5 separate regions of the Homo sapiens genome follow, and regions 2, 3, 4 and 5 are each linked to region 1. Evidence: promoter capture Hi-C in 16 types of primary human blood cells and fetal thymus (Javierre and others, 2016). All regions are on one chromosome and are shown on one strand. Each heading gives the region's core, a stretch centred on a gene start or on the middle of the fragment in contact. The rest is flanking DNA. Distances are from core to core; before and after follow the strand shown. Region 1 holds the start of DUSP26 (dual specificity phosphatase 26). Region 2 overlaps POFUT3 (protein O-fucosyltransferase 3). Region 3 overlaps POFUT3 (protein O-fucosyltransferase 3). Region 4 overlaps POFUT3 (protein O-fucosyltransferase 3). Region 5 overlaps POFUT3 (protein O-fucosyltransferase 3).

Region 1 (2,515 bases), core at 10-2,509:
GGCTAGGCGGTACATTAAACTTGGATGGCAGCCTGTCATGGAACCTGGGGATTGGTCACATTGGCCAGTACTTTCTCTAACCCAGAGATCAAAACCTGATCTGCCACCACTGCTGGGAATGGAGTCAGTCCTGGTTTCAGCTATAGCTGACACCATCAGCTTCAATCTGAGCCAATCTACTTTCTGCCTTTCTTCTAGTAGACAGCGAGAGTTCAAGCCAGCCTAGTTCTCAACAGCATCATCTGCTAACATTTATCATCTCCCCCACTTCCCTCTCACACAATAAGGTAGGCACTGGGGAAGGTAGCACAGTCCCTGCCTTCAAAGTGCTTACAATCTTGGTGCTTACAATAAAAATGCCGATCAAGTGAATATGTCACTAGAAGGCAGCACATGAGAAATTAATATGAAGATGGCCGGACACAGTGGCTCATGCCTGTAATCTGAGCACTTTGAGAGAAGGTGGGTGGATCACCTGAGGTCAGGAGTTCAAGACCAGCCTGGTCAACATGGTGAAACCCCATCTGTACTAAAAAACAAACAAACAAAGAAAAAATATATACAAAAAATTAGCCAGGCATGGAGGCGGGCGCCTGTAATCCCAGCTACTTGGGAAGCTGAGGCAGGAGAATGGCTTGAACCTGGGAGGCGGGTTACAATGAGCCAAGATTGCGCCACTGCACTCCAGCCTGGGCGACAGAGTGGGACTGCATCTCAAAAAAGAAAGAAAGAAATATGAAGATGAATGTTTTGAGAGTCTGGGGAAAGTGAAGTTCACTATGAGCTGAGCTGGTGGAAATGGCTTCCTGAATGAAGGAAATCCATGGTGCCTTCTCCATTTTGTGGGAGGCACTGGTTTAGAGAGTGGTTAAGGACATAAACTGCAAAGCCAGGCTGCATTGTTTGAACAAGCTCAGCTCTGCCAGTAACGAGCTGTGTGACCAGGGCAGAGTACCTAGCCTCTCTGTGCCTAGGTCGCCTCCTCCCTAAAATTAGGACAATAGTAATTATGTCTCCCTCATAGACTTGTGGGGAGTATAAAATGCCTTAAGCTAAATGAAGCACATGGCATATAATGAAGGCTAATGGGGGCTTCGGACCATTGTTCTTTATGACACGGTTTCTTGAGACCGAGGCATGTACAAGCCAGTGCACAGAATCGTGTCTATGTAATTAGTTAATTCTGTCTGGGAGGAGTGTGTGTGTTTAAGACAGTGCCTGGGATGACTTATAATGTAATCTTTAGGCAAAACGCTTTGTAATTGGTGCAGCTCTGAGAACACACGCATGCATTCCAGGCGGTGCTGCTGGGGCTCGGCGGGGCCGTGTCTGGTCTGCAAGGCGCGCGGGCTCGTGGGGGGTTGGCTGGGGAGCCCACGCTGCCTGGCGACTCGGGCCACCGAATGTGAGACCGAGTCCCTTTATGTCACCAGCGCACACGCTGATTTGAACCCTGCTTCGACGTGTGTGTCATGGCTTAAAAATAGCTGCTAATCTGTCAACCTGTCTTGGGCAGAAACAGCGGCGGCGACAGCAGCAGGAGCGTCATGGCCGTGGCGCTGTCTGCGCCGGCGATCCGCCTTTCGGACTGAGGCCCAGCGCAGCGCTTGCAAAGAGGTAGAGGGGCTGCGGCGGGCCTTCGCCTTTTCAGCTGGCTCTCCACGCTGGGGAGAGGCGCCCAGCTAGGGGCGACGGGGGAGGGAGGGGACCGGGAAGCGGGCACCCGAGCCCAGCGAGCCAGCCTCTCTCTCCCGGGCGCCCTCCCTCCGCGCGCGGGGCCCGGCTGCCAGGCTGGCGAGGACTGGGGCGACAGCCATGGACCTGTTACAAAGGCGACCGCAGGCGGAGGGAGGGAGCGGCGGGCCAGGGCCCCTGGAGCCGACGGATGGGATTGGAGAATGCCCAGGGCTGTATCCCTGGACAGAAAGGGGCTTCTGCATCCCCCGGGAAAAACAGCCCCACGGAGATCCTTCTTAGACCTGGGCTCCTTCACGCTTCCCCCATCCCATTCATCATCTCGTAGACAGCAGACTCTCTAAGAGGAAAGGTTGTATTGCAATACAGTAATGGGGTCTTTAGGCCTGGGTGCAAAGGTAGAAGAAGATGATGGTGATAGTGATGGTGGTGATGGTGGTAGTGATGATGGTGATGGTGGTGGTGATGATGGCTGTAGTGCTATATTTCTGTGCTCCTTCCGGACCCAGCCATTGAAAACTCTCTCTCCCTAAACTCCCTAACATCCAATCTTCCCTCACCAATCCTGGTCCTAAAACCCCTGCTTCTAATGCCTTGTAAGTGCTTGGTTTCTCTTGGCACTGGAGCAAGGGAGAGCTGGGCCCTGTCTAGGGGTGTGAGATGGGGACAGAGCATGGGCAGGGACAAAGATGGCCTCTCACTGCTGGTCATAGAGTTGAAGTCCCCCTGGCAGGAGGCCAGGAAGGGAGTGGAAGGGGATTCTGCAGGCTCCAGGACCTCCTGCTTTCAAACAGGCAGGACCACAGGTGTGAGAGGATGG
Region 2 (2,515 bases), core at 12-2,511, 220 kb after region 1:
GAATTGTGCCTTATCAGAAGCTTTAGCATTGATCATTGTTGCTGGTAGATCAGGTCTTCAACAGTGGCAGTGATGAATTCTGCCTGTGAGTGAGAACCAAAGCTCTTCTGTTCATGCATAGCCTCCATCATTCCTACAATGTCCTGTTCATGGGTCAGTGGAACCAGTATTGGGGTAACAAAGGGACAGGCTGGCTGAAATCCAATAACTCATAATACCTACCTGCTTGTTGTGAGCTTTCTCTCAGTGGCTGCTTATTGGTGTGCATCAATATCAGATACTGATTGGAGCCATGTTGATCCTGTGTAGATACCAGTTTCAGCAAGGCAGCTGCAGTTGGAACTACTGTCAGGTTAAGTTCCTGGTAGTCCCCTACCATCTACCATGATTTATCTGTTTTTTTTTTTTTCAGGGGTCAGAACGGTGAATTAAATGGTGGTGGTGGGGATTATGATGGGGAAAACTCCTTGGTCTTATGGGGCATTGATCTCTACAGTTTTTCCAAGATGATGGTGTTGCTTCAGACTTACTATCCTGTCTGAGGGGGCAGTTGTTTTTTGAGACAGTCTCACTCTGTCACCCAGGCTGGAGTGCAGTGGTGCAATTTCGGCTCACTGCAACCTCTGCCTCTTGGATTCAAGCAATTCGCCTGCCTCAGCCTCCTGAGTAGCTGGGATTACAGGTGTGCACCACCACGCCCAGCTAATTTTTGTATATTTAGTAGAGACGGGGTTTCAACATGTTGGCCAGGCTGGTCTTGAACTCCTGACTTCAAGTGATCCTCCAACCTCAGCCTCCCAAAGTGCTGAGATTACAGGTATGAGCCACCGTGCCTGGCCACTTACCCAGTTCTTGACAGTACACCCTAGCCTTTGCTGCTTCTCTTGGTATATAAGCTATTTCTTCTCAGAGTAGGGCCTCTGTTTCTCACTTAGGTGTTGAGTGCTGGTGATAAAGCAGGTGATATTAATTTTAATGGGGATTTACCACCAGCAATGGGGCTTTTATTGCCATCAGGTGAATAATGCTCTTTAGCGCCACTCCTGGTACCAACGATCTTAACCTGGCTTCCACAGAAAACAGAAATGGAAACAGAGGCATCTGTGCTGTGATTCTGTTAGGGAGTGCAGTCCTAGAGGGTTGGAGGGAGGAGTAGGGGAGTGAACCAGGGAAGGAAGGAGGGCAATGCGATGATGTTACTGAGCTGAGTGTTAAGTGGGAGTGATTGGTTCATCCTCAGGACCCTGCCCCTGAGAAGCACATACTGCACTCGGAATCATTCCTTCCAGGTAAGGAAGGGGAGAAAATTGATCCATGGGCCCTGCTTTCTCCGTAGTCCAAAATTTGTCCCACTGGTCCTAACTTGCTCTACCTTTTGGGTTGCACGTGTGTGATATGGGTGCTGAGAAGAGTTCCACAGTGACTCCAACAGTTAAATTCTAGAGCAGGAAGTCACATGGAAGGAGGTGAGGTGTACTGTTGGTCAGAGCCCTGTGCAGGTGGGGCAAGGGATAGATGAAGTTGAGAAGTTCAGGAATCTGCTAGAGGGCGGTACTCTTACCCTCGTTCATGCCTGCTCTCCCCTAGTCTAATGATCTACTGTTAAGTTTCTTTGGACAATACTCAGCTGCTGCTGGGGTAGGAGAACGTCAGTTTCTTGCTTGTGCACAGTGATGATTTGGGTCTTCAGTTGCCTCCTACAAAACTGGCAACCACTTCCCTTTCAGCCCCTTCTTTACACCCACTGCCAGAGTTCTGTGCGCCACCAAATTCTGCAGCATCTTGTGCAAGCTGCAGTGAACGTTGAGTTGCTTTTCTGCTTTCCCGCTGCTTCTTAGAACTCAGCTTTCTCACATCAACTAAGTCATTTGCCACCCATCTGTTAACTTTGCAACTTCCGAAATTTTTTGTTTTCCTTATCATTTTGTTTTTCTTCAGGAATCTATGCCATAAAAAAAAAAACCACCTTGCTGTCATTTTATGGGATTTCAGGAGGGAATGAAATTAAAAGTGTGTGTCTAGTCAACCATTTTTATTTGGAAATCTCCATTTGATTGATTGATTGATTGAGACAGGGTCTCTATCACCCAGGCTGGAGTACAGTGGTGTGATCTCGGCTCACTGCAACCTCCAGCTCCGAGGCTTGAGTGGTCCTCCCACCTCAGACTCCCGAGTAGCTGGGACTGTAGGCGCAGCCACCATGCCTGGCAAATTTTTGTAATTTTTGTACAGATGGAGTTTTGCCATGTTTCCCAGGCTGGTCTCGAAGTCCTTAGCTCAAGCAATGTGCCCATCTCAGCCTCCCAAAGTGCTAGGATTGCGTGTGTTAGCCACTATGCCCAGCCTATTTTCTTTATTAAACAAACTAGTTGAAAAAAATTGTATTGAAGGTGCGCTCTGATTCGGGCATTATTGTGCTAGATAATGGTAAGCAAGAAAAGACATGGTCCCTTGTCATAGGGCTTACAGTTTAGATTAGACATTATTAAAGGAATAAGCTTTGTGCACTGTGAAG
Region 3 (2,515 bases), core at 12-2,511, 200 kb after region 1:
CATTATTTTTAAAGCTATGTTGATTCTATAGTATGGCTATAACTAAAATTATTTAACCATTCTGCTGTCAATAGTTTTTTAAGGCTACTTCTGTTTTTTGTTGTGTTACTATGAACATATTTATCTGTCTCTCCTCATATGTGCGATTATTTCTCTATCTAATATCTAGAAATTTGAGTTGCTGTGTTAATGGGTGAATTAAATTAAAAATTTACTACGTACTACTAACTTGGTCTCTGAAAAAGCTATACCAGTTTTCCCTCCAAGTTTGAACTTTTTTAATGGGAAAAATTGGAAACAAAGTAAACATAGTTAATTAAATTTTGTAAGCTCAAATCACAAACTGGGACTTTGCTCTGCTTTTAACAAAATTTTATTTATTATTTACTTATACATTTGATTGGTATAAAACTTCTCAGAAAAGCTTAGGACACTTGGCTTGTTGATTTATTTGGCAGTTATAATTTAATAGACTTCACACGAGCTCTGAGTTAGAATGAATCTGAGTGTTTCCCCATGACTGACTGATAAGATGTTTCTATATAATAAACACTAATTAAAATGTGATCAGCTTGGAATAATCAAGAAATTACCTGCAACTAAAAGATCTCTTTCATACCAAAGGTCAGGTTAAAAGTTGAGTTCTTTAGTATTTCCTTAATATTTCATTCCCATTTTTACAACTCACTAATTTCTTGAATCATCGACTATTTTTTTTTTTGTAAAGAATAACTGAATGCCAAAGTGTTGCTAAGCTTCATCATTTTTTAATGAGGTGGTAGTGCCACTTACTAGTCTACCATCGTAAGTAATTAAAACTGCCATACTTGTCTGAGTAAATGAGGCAGGAGAAAGTTCTTAAGACGATGTAGTGGTTTTGTGATCAATTTGCTTCACCTATTTTTCCTTTTTTTTTTGAGACGGAGTCTTGCTCTGTTGTCCAGGCTGGAGTGCAGTGGCACAATCTCGGCTCACTGCAACCTCTGCCTCCCGGGTTCAAGTGATTCTCCTGCCAAGGAGAATTTTGTGGGCCAAGATGAAAGAGACATGGATGATAGGAGGGCTTCTGGTCTGGTGGGGAGCTAAACAGGTGCACACATAACTACAGTTGAGTATGATCAATATTATAGTTCAGATCCATACAAAAAGCCACGAGATCACTGGATAGGGAGCAACATGAAGACTTGAGCAATTTGGAAAGTTCTTCCTGCAAAAGTATTCACTTTCCAGAGTCCTGTTGGCAGTAGCAAATTATCATGTATAGAAAAAAGAGCAGGAAAGGTCTCATCTACAACTCTGCTTCTTTTTTTGTTGTTGTTGTGATGAAACTTTAAATTTTATTTGTATAAATTTATGGGGCGCAAGTGTAGTTTTGTTACATACAAGTCAGGGCTTTAGGTTTTCCATCGCCTTAATAACATACATTGTACCCATTTGGTACTTTCTCATATTTGATGCTATTAAATGGAATAGTTTTCTTTTCTTTTCTTTTTTTTTTTAACACCAGTATGCAGACTTTCCAAATGTGATGAGACCTGCCATTGTCATTTAAATGCATTAGGCTGCATCCATCAAGAACTTGACCCAAAGTGGCTTAGCAATAAAGGCATTTATTTATTAAATTAGTCAGAAATCTGGGGCAGGCAGACCTGTTTTGTTCAGCAGTTCAACTTGTTACTGAAGATGTCCTTTTACTCTGCCATTTCTCCACATGGTGGGGAAGTCTTTCCACGTTGTGGTATGAAGCCCGTAGCAGCTGAAAGCTTTGTGAACTCACCTATCCAAGCACATCCCACACTCCCAAACTTTGTATAATGAGACTCCTCTCTGAGAACCCGAATTTTCTTTTTCTTTTTCTTTTTTTTTTTTTTTGAGACAGAGCCTTACTCTGTCACCCAGGCTGGAGTGCAGTGGTGTGATCTTGGCTCACTGCAGCCTCCGCTTCCCGGGTTCAAGTGATTCTTGTGCCTCAGCCTCCCAAGTAACTGGGATTACAGGCATGCACCACCACACCTGAGTAATTTTTGTATTTTTAGTCAAGACGGGGTTTTGCCATGTTGGCCAGACTGGTCTCAAACTCCTGACCTTGGGTGATCTGCCTGCCTTGGCCTCCCAAAGTGCTAGGATTACAGGTGTGAGCTACCGCGCCCGGCCTGGAACCTTCATTTTCTTACCCATGTTGTGTTTTTGTTCCTGTGCTCCTGTGCCTGTCTGCTGTGCTGAGCTGCAGATGTGTCCTGCCACAGCTTTGCAGGACAGGGATAAGTTGAGACAGGAAGCAAGAAGCCTTGCCTGTCAGGCTGCCCTTGGCATGACTGGAGTGTACGTGGGGATTTTCACCTCTTATTTTGGGGTCCATTCTGTTCCTTCTTTGAACCCCAGTCTCTACAGGATAGGGTGTTTTGGGACAGAGTTCGTCTTACTTTAGATATAAATAATATAAAATTAACCCATTATAAATTTATTTTTTATTTAAAAAATTTTTTAAAAGACAGGCTCTCACTCTCCCACGCAG
Region 4 (2,515 bases), core at 16-2,515, 150 kb after region 1:
CTGGTTGAAAAGGTCTCCCGAGCGATGAAGTATCTCTCCATACACCATCTATGGATGACGAATTCCCAGAGGCTTGTAATGAAATACATTAAGAAAAACTGAGAGCAGACCTAGTCGATGCTTCCTTTGTTTCAGAGGATGCTTCGGGATTTCTCAGTGCCTTCATGTGATCACGTGTAATTAAAAAGAGAGGCACACCCAGGAGGGAGCCTGACTGTTCAGGCAGGGCCTCTCAAGGGTCAGACCTCTGCTGCAGTCCTCATTCTTCAATATCTAGTCAGTTTTTTCAGTTCACAAAGAATCAGTAAAACTTTAATGAACCGAATGGCATTGACCTACATAGGAGATTCATGCTTATAATAAAAAACCAACTTGTTGGTGTCTTTGCATGGGAACAGGAGTACTGATGTTTATTGCTCAGGGTACCTAGTCCTGATGATCAGGTTAGACAGAGAATGGCATTAGAATCATGAGGTTGCTTAGTGAGCTTAGAATTACAGTAAACACTTGAGCAATGGACCATCCAAGAAATGAGAAAGCCTCATTAGCTTCCTTTGTCCCTAACAAAGGAGCAGTAATAATGATCACTGTCATTAATTGGTACCTACTCTGTGCCAGGCGCCAAAGGACACTGTCCAAGTATTTTTTTTTTTTTTTTGTAATAGGATCTTGCCTTGTCACCCAGGCTGGAGTGCAGTGGTGTGATATCGACTCATTGCAACTGCTGCCTCCTGTGTTCGAGAGATTCTCGTGCCTCAGCCTCCTGAGTAGCTGGGACTACAGGTGTGCGCCACCACACCTGGCTAATTTTTGTATTTTGAGTAGAGACGGCATTTCACCATGCTGGCCAGGCTGGTCTCGAATTCCTGACCTCAAGTCATCCACCCACCTCGGCCTCCCAAAGTGCTGGGATTACAGGCATGAGCTACCGCACCTGGCCACCAGTTGTATCTTTTTGCATTCCCCAGCTCAGACCCCTTCCCCACTGGAAGGCTGCCATGGTCTTTCTGCTCTATACCCTTTCCTGGTTCCTCTTCTCCCTCCCTCTCCAGCTGCTTTCTGGAGCCTGTCAGAGTTGCAGTGAGGACAGGAAGGAGAATGAAGGCACAGGACATTTCTTAATTGGCTGGGTGGCTTTATGTCCTCTGAACCTGGCAGGTGGTTGGAGCTGGTGTCTTTGGGTGGGTCTGGTAGGTGATGCAAGTGAACTTTTTTTTATTCTGAGGTGGTTTCTGGCATTTGAAATTTCCTTGCTGGACTTGTTGCTTTTATAGTTTCTTTTCCTAGGAAGCTGCATCTCTGCTGTGGGTAGTCATATGGGACAGCTTCCCAGCACCTGGCATTTTGCAGACCACAGCCAGCTTCTTTCTGCAGAGGTCTCTGGTCTCTATGTCCTCATGGTTACTTTGGAATCTTGATATCTGTCCTTTTAGTTCCATCTCAACATTCAGTTCTAGAATGGCTCTTTGGAGGGTCACCATTTGCCAGGCCTCTTCTGTGTTGGAGAAACACAGAAAAGGAACAAGTACAGTCCAACATGATTATATCACCATTGATGGGATAGCAACCTTGAAAGATTTCCTTATACCGCCACCCCTGGTCATCTTGTACTGGGTGTCTCCTAAGGCTTCATGAGTGACATATCTATGACCCATTCTCAGGAGTAGAGATTTCTGCTGATCTCATCCATTTCATGTTGATTCTTACTAGTTTTTTTCTCCAGAGGTTAGCTTTATTTTGGAAACTGTGTATTGAATGTAGATAGTAGGTAATTGTCATTTATAGTGTGCCAGATTTAAGACTTTTTTGGGAAGTGGCAAAGAAATGGGCTTAATTAGAGTGTTTGGCAGTAATAAAGTTGGACATAAAAATGAAGGTCATGGCTAGGCGCAATGGCTCACACCTGTAGTCCCAGCCCTTTGGGAGGCCAAGGCAGGCAGATTGCTTGAGCTCAGGAGTTTGAGACCAGCCTGGACAGTATGGCAAAACCCGGGCTCTACAGAAAATACAAAAATTAGCTGGGCATGGTGGTGCGTGCCTGTAGTCCCAGCTACTCTGGAGGCTGCAGTGGGAGGATTGCTTAAGCCTGGGAGGTGGAGGTTGCAGTGAGTCGAGATTGCACTATTGCACCCCAGCCTGGGCAACAGAGTGAGAACCTATCTCAAAAAAAAAAAAAAAAAAGATGAAGGTCATAACTGAACAATAGATTTTATATATATCTGCTCCAATAAGATACCTTGTTTAAAATAGACATCCATTTTTATTTAAATAAATAATAGTAATTATTATTATTTTTTGGGATGGAGGCTCACTCTGTCATCCAGGCTGGAATGCAGTGGCGTGATCTCAGCTCACTACAACCTCTGCCTCCTGGGTTCAAGTGATTCTCCTTCCTCAACTTCCTGAGTAGCTGGGATTACAGGCACACGCCACCACACCTGGCTAATTTTTGTATTTTTAGTAAAGACGGTGTTTCCCCATGTTGGCCAGGCTGGTCTCAAACTCCTGACCTCAG
Region 5 (2,515 bases), core at 11-2,510, 130 kb after region 1:
TGGGTTCAAGCAATCCTTCCTGCCTCAGCCTCCCAAGTAGCTGGGATTACAGGAGTCTGCCACCACACCCGGCTAATTTTTGTATTTTTAGTAGAGACAGGGCTTCACCATATTGGTCGGGCTGGTCTCGAACTCCTGACCTCAGGTGATCCACCCGCCTTGGCCTCTCAAAGTACTGAGATTACAGGTGTGAGCCACTATGCCCGGCCTAATCACCAGTCTTGATTGACATGGCTGCCAGTGTCCCTTTCTCCCTTACTGTTCTCTTTTGGTCTATTCTATTGAATTGGAGCCTGCTGTCCTTCATAGTGCTCTCTGCAAGTCTGCCTGTCCCACCAGTTGGAGGACTGCTGACTTGATGTCAGGCTCCTGGGTAACTAATACCATATACAGTATTAGATTGACTGTTACTGTTATAAATGTACCCTGAGGCCTGGATAATGGTTGTATGCTCTAAGTCACAATACTACTATCTACCCTGGCTGGGCCCTGCCCTGCCCTGCCCTTCTTTCCCCTTCCCTGCCCTGCCCTTCTTTTCTCTCTCCTTCCATTTTCCCTTCCCTTCTCCTTTCTCTTTCCTTTCCTTCTTTTGTTTTCTTTTTTGAGACAGTGTCTCACTCTGCTACCCAGGCTGGAGTACAGTGGCATAATCATGGCTCAGTGCAGCCTTGAACTCCTGGGCTCAGGTGATTCTCCTGCTTTAGCCTTCCAGGTAGCTGGGACCACAGACATGCACCACCATGCCCAGCTAATTTTTAAATTAAAAAAAATTTTTTTTGTAGAGACGGAGTCTTGTTTTGTTGCCCAGGCTAGTCTTGAACCCCTGGGCTCAAGGGATCTTCCTGCCTCAGTCTCCCAGAACCACCGCACCTGGCTGGCTCTGTTCTTTAGTGGTAGTTACTTAACCATACGTTGTTCCCTGAGACCTACTACACTTCTGGCTTTGGGAAGATAGCCTAGGTTGAGATTCTTTAAATATAAGGGAATTCATAATCTTAAAATTCTTCTGTCATAGTTCATAAAGCTATGCGAAGGTCCCAAAAAGCTCCTATGATAGACCTGAGCTATGCAGTAGCTATAAAAATATCCCAAACTCTGTCCTCAAATTGTATCTTTTGTTTTCCTTTATTACTGATTATTTCTGTACTTTTCACAAGCTGTCACTATGTTCCTTCATTTATCTGCTTTCCACACATCTTTGAGTTGAGTGAGCTGATATCTAGACTCACTTCTGTCTTTAAAAAATATGATCCTGTGGCCGGGTGCAGTGGCTCATACCTGTAATCCTAGCACTTTGGGAGGCCGAGGCAGGTGGATCATTTGAGGTGTTCAAGATAATTCAGGAGTTTGAGACCAGCCTGGCCAACATGGTGAAACCCTGTCTCTACTACAAATAGAAAAATTAGCTGGGTGTGGTGGCACGCGCCTGTAGTCCCAGCTACCCGGGAGGATGAGGCAGGAGAATCGCTTGAATTCAGGAGGCGGAGGTTGCAGTGAGCCGAGATTGCGCCACTGCACTCCAGCCTGGGCAACAGAGCGAGACCCTGTCTGAAAACAACAACAAAAGCAACAACAGCAACAACTCTCTCTCTCTCTCTCTCTATATATATATGTATGTATGTGTGTATATATATATATATATGATCTTGGGCAAATCACTTAAACTTGAGAAGGCTCAGCTTCCTTGGGAACTGGGAATAATAATACCTACCTTGCCTACTTTTCAAAGTGGTTATAAATAAGGTTGAGTAGAGTGATATATCTAAACATTTTTGAAAACAGTATAGTTTTATTCCCATTTTAGTAGGTGATATTATTTTACTACATAATCTGGGTTACGTTAATGATAACTATAATAAATTGCTTCTGCACATTAAATGAAAATTTGGTAATCTTTCTGTTATGCAAGGGAAAGAAATAGTGATAGTTAACATTTATTATTTACTATGAAGAAGCTGAGGCTTAGAAAGATTCAGTAACTTGTCTAAATTTATATTAAGTAAAAGAACCAGGATTGGGACCCAAAGTGCTAGCTCCATGTTGTGTGTGGTTAATAGCTACAAGCATCTACTAAGTAGGAGCAAAGGTACTTTACAGGTTCTTATAGATTTGTATTCCTTTTTTCTCTGATATACTAGCTGACAACTGTACTACATATGTTTTCTGTGGTTTAGGCAGGTAACCTGTGAGTGTTGGTATTGTCTGGTGGTAATTTTATAGTATTTCTTTTTTTAAAATTATTTTTTATTTTTTGAGACCAGGCCTGGCTCTGTCACCCAAGCTAAGTGCAGTGGCACAATCACGGCTCACTGCAGCCTCAATCTCCTGGGCTGAAGCAATCCTCCTGCCTCAGCCTCCCAGGACTAGGACTACAGACACTCACCGCCATGCCTGGCTAATTTATTTTTTGTAGAGATGGGGTCTTACTGTGTTGCCTAGGTGGGTCCTTCCACCTTGGCCTCCCAAGCTGTTGGGATTACCTGCATGAGCCACTGTGTGCAGTCAAGGAATTTTA

What was found. The method cuts DNA at HindIII sites, captures the fragments that hold promoters and counts their contacts. A CHiCAGO score of 5 or more calls a contact.
Region 2: a fragment that was not itself captured here is called in contact with the fragment with the promoter of DUSP26 in region 1 in 1 of 17 cell types (non-activated CD4 T cells); the score reaches 5.5 in non-activated CD4 T cells.
Region 3: a fragment that was not itself captured here is called in contact with the fragment with the promoter of DUSP26 in region 1 in 2 of 17 cell types (neutrophils and non-activated CD4 T cells); the score reaches 6.6 in neutrophils.
Region 4: a contact is called between a fragment that was not itself captured here and the fragment with the promoter of DUSP26 in region 1, in 2 of 17 cell types (non-activated CD4 T cells and monocytes). The highest score is 6.3, in non-activated CD4 T cells.
Region 5: a fragment that was not itself captured here is called in contact with the fragment with the promoter of DUSP26 in region 1 in 1 of 17 cell types (monocytes); the score reaches 5.3 in monocytes.

The regions. Positions count from the first base shown.
Region 1 is chr8:33,598,767-33,601,281 of GRCh38, reverse strand. It overlaps DUSP26 (dual specificity phosphatase 26), which reads left to right and starts at 1,259. Exons shown (of 4, transcript NM_024025.3): 1 at 1,259-1,617. The HindIII fragment of the contact is 17,028 bases long and covers 1-2,515 here.
Region 2 is chr8:33,381,841-33,384,355 of GRCh38, reverse strand. All of the region lies in intron 4 of POFUT3 (protein O-fucosyltransferase 3), which reads left to right. Among named protein-coding and RNA genes, the nearest start is that of POFUT3, 90 kb to the left of the region's middle. The HindIII fragment of the contact is 2,478 bases long and covers 23-2,500 here.
Region 3 is chr8:33,403,695-33,406,209 of GRCh38, reverse strand. All of the region lies in intron 3 of POFUT3 (protein O-fucosyltransferase 3), which reads left to right. Among named protein-coding and RNA genes, the nearest start is that of POFUT3, 68 kb to the left of the region's middle. The HindIII fragment of the contact is 1,008 bases long and covers 758-1,765 here.
Region 4 is chr8:33,444,600-33,447,114 of GRCh38, reverse strand. The region is part of intron 3 of POFUT3 (protein O-fucosyltransferase 3); the gene reads left to right. Among named protein-coding and RNA genes, the nearest start is that of POFUT3, 27 kb to the left of the region's middle. The HindIII fragment of the contact is 3,773 bases long and covers 1-2,515 here.
Region 5 is chr8:33,464,517-33,467,031 of GRCh38, reverse strand. All of the region lies in intron 1 of POFUT3 (protein O-fucosyltransferase 3), which reads left to right. Among named protein-coding and RNA genes, the nearest start is that of POFUT3, 7.4 kb to the left of the region's middle. The HindIII fragment of the contact is 8,691 bases long and covers 1-2,515 here.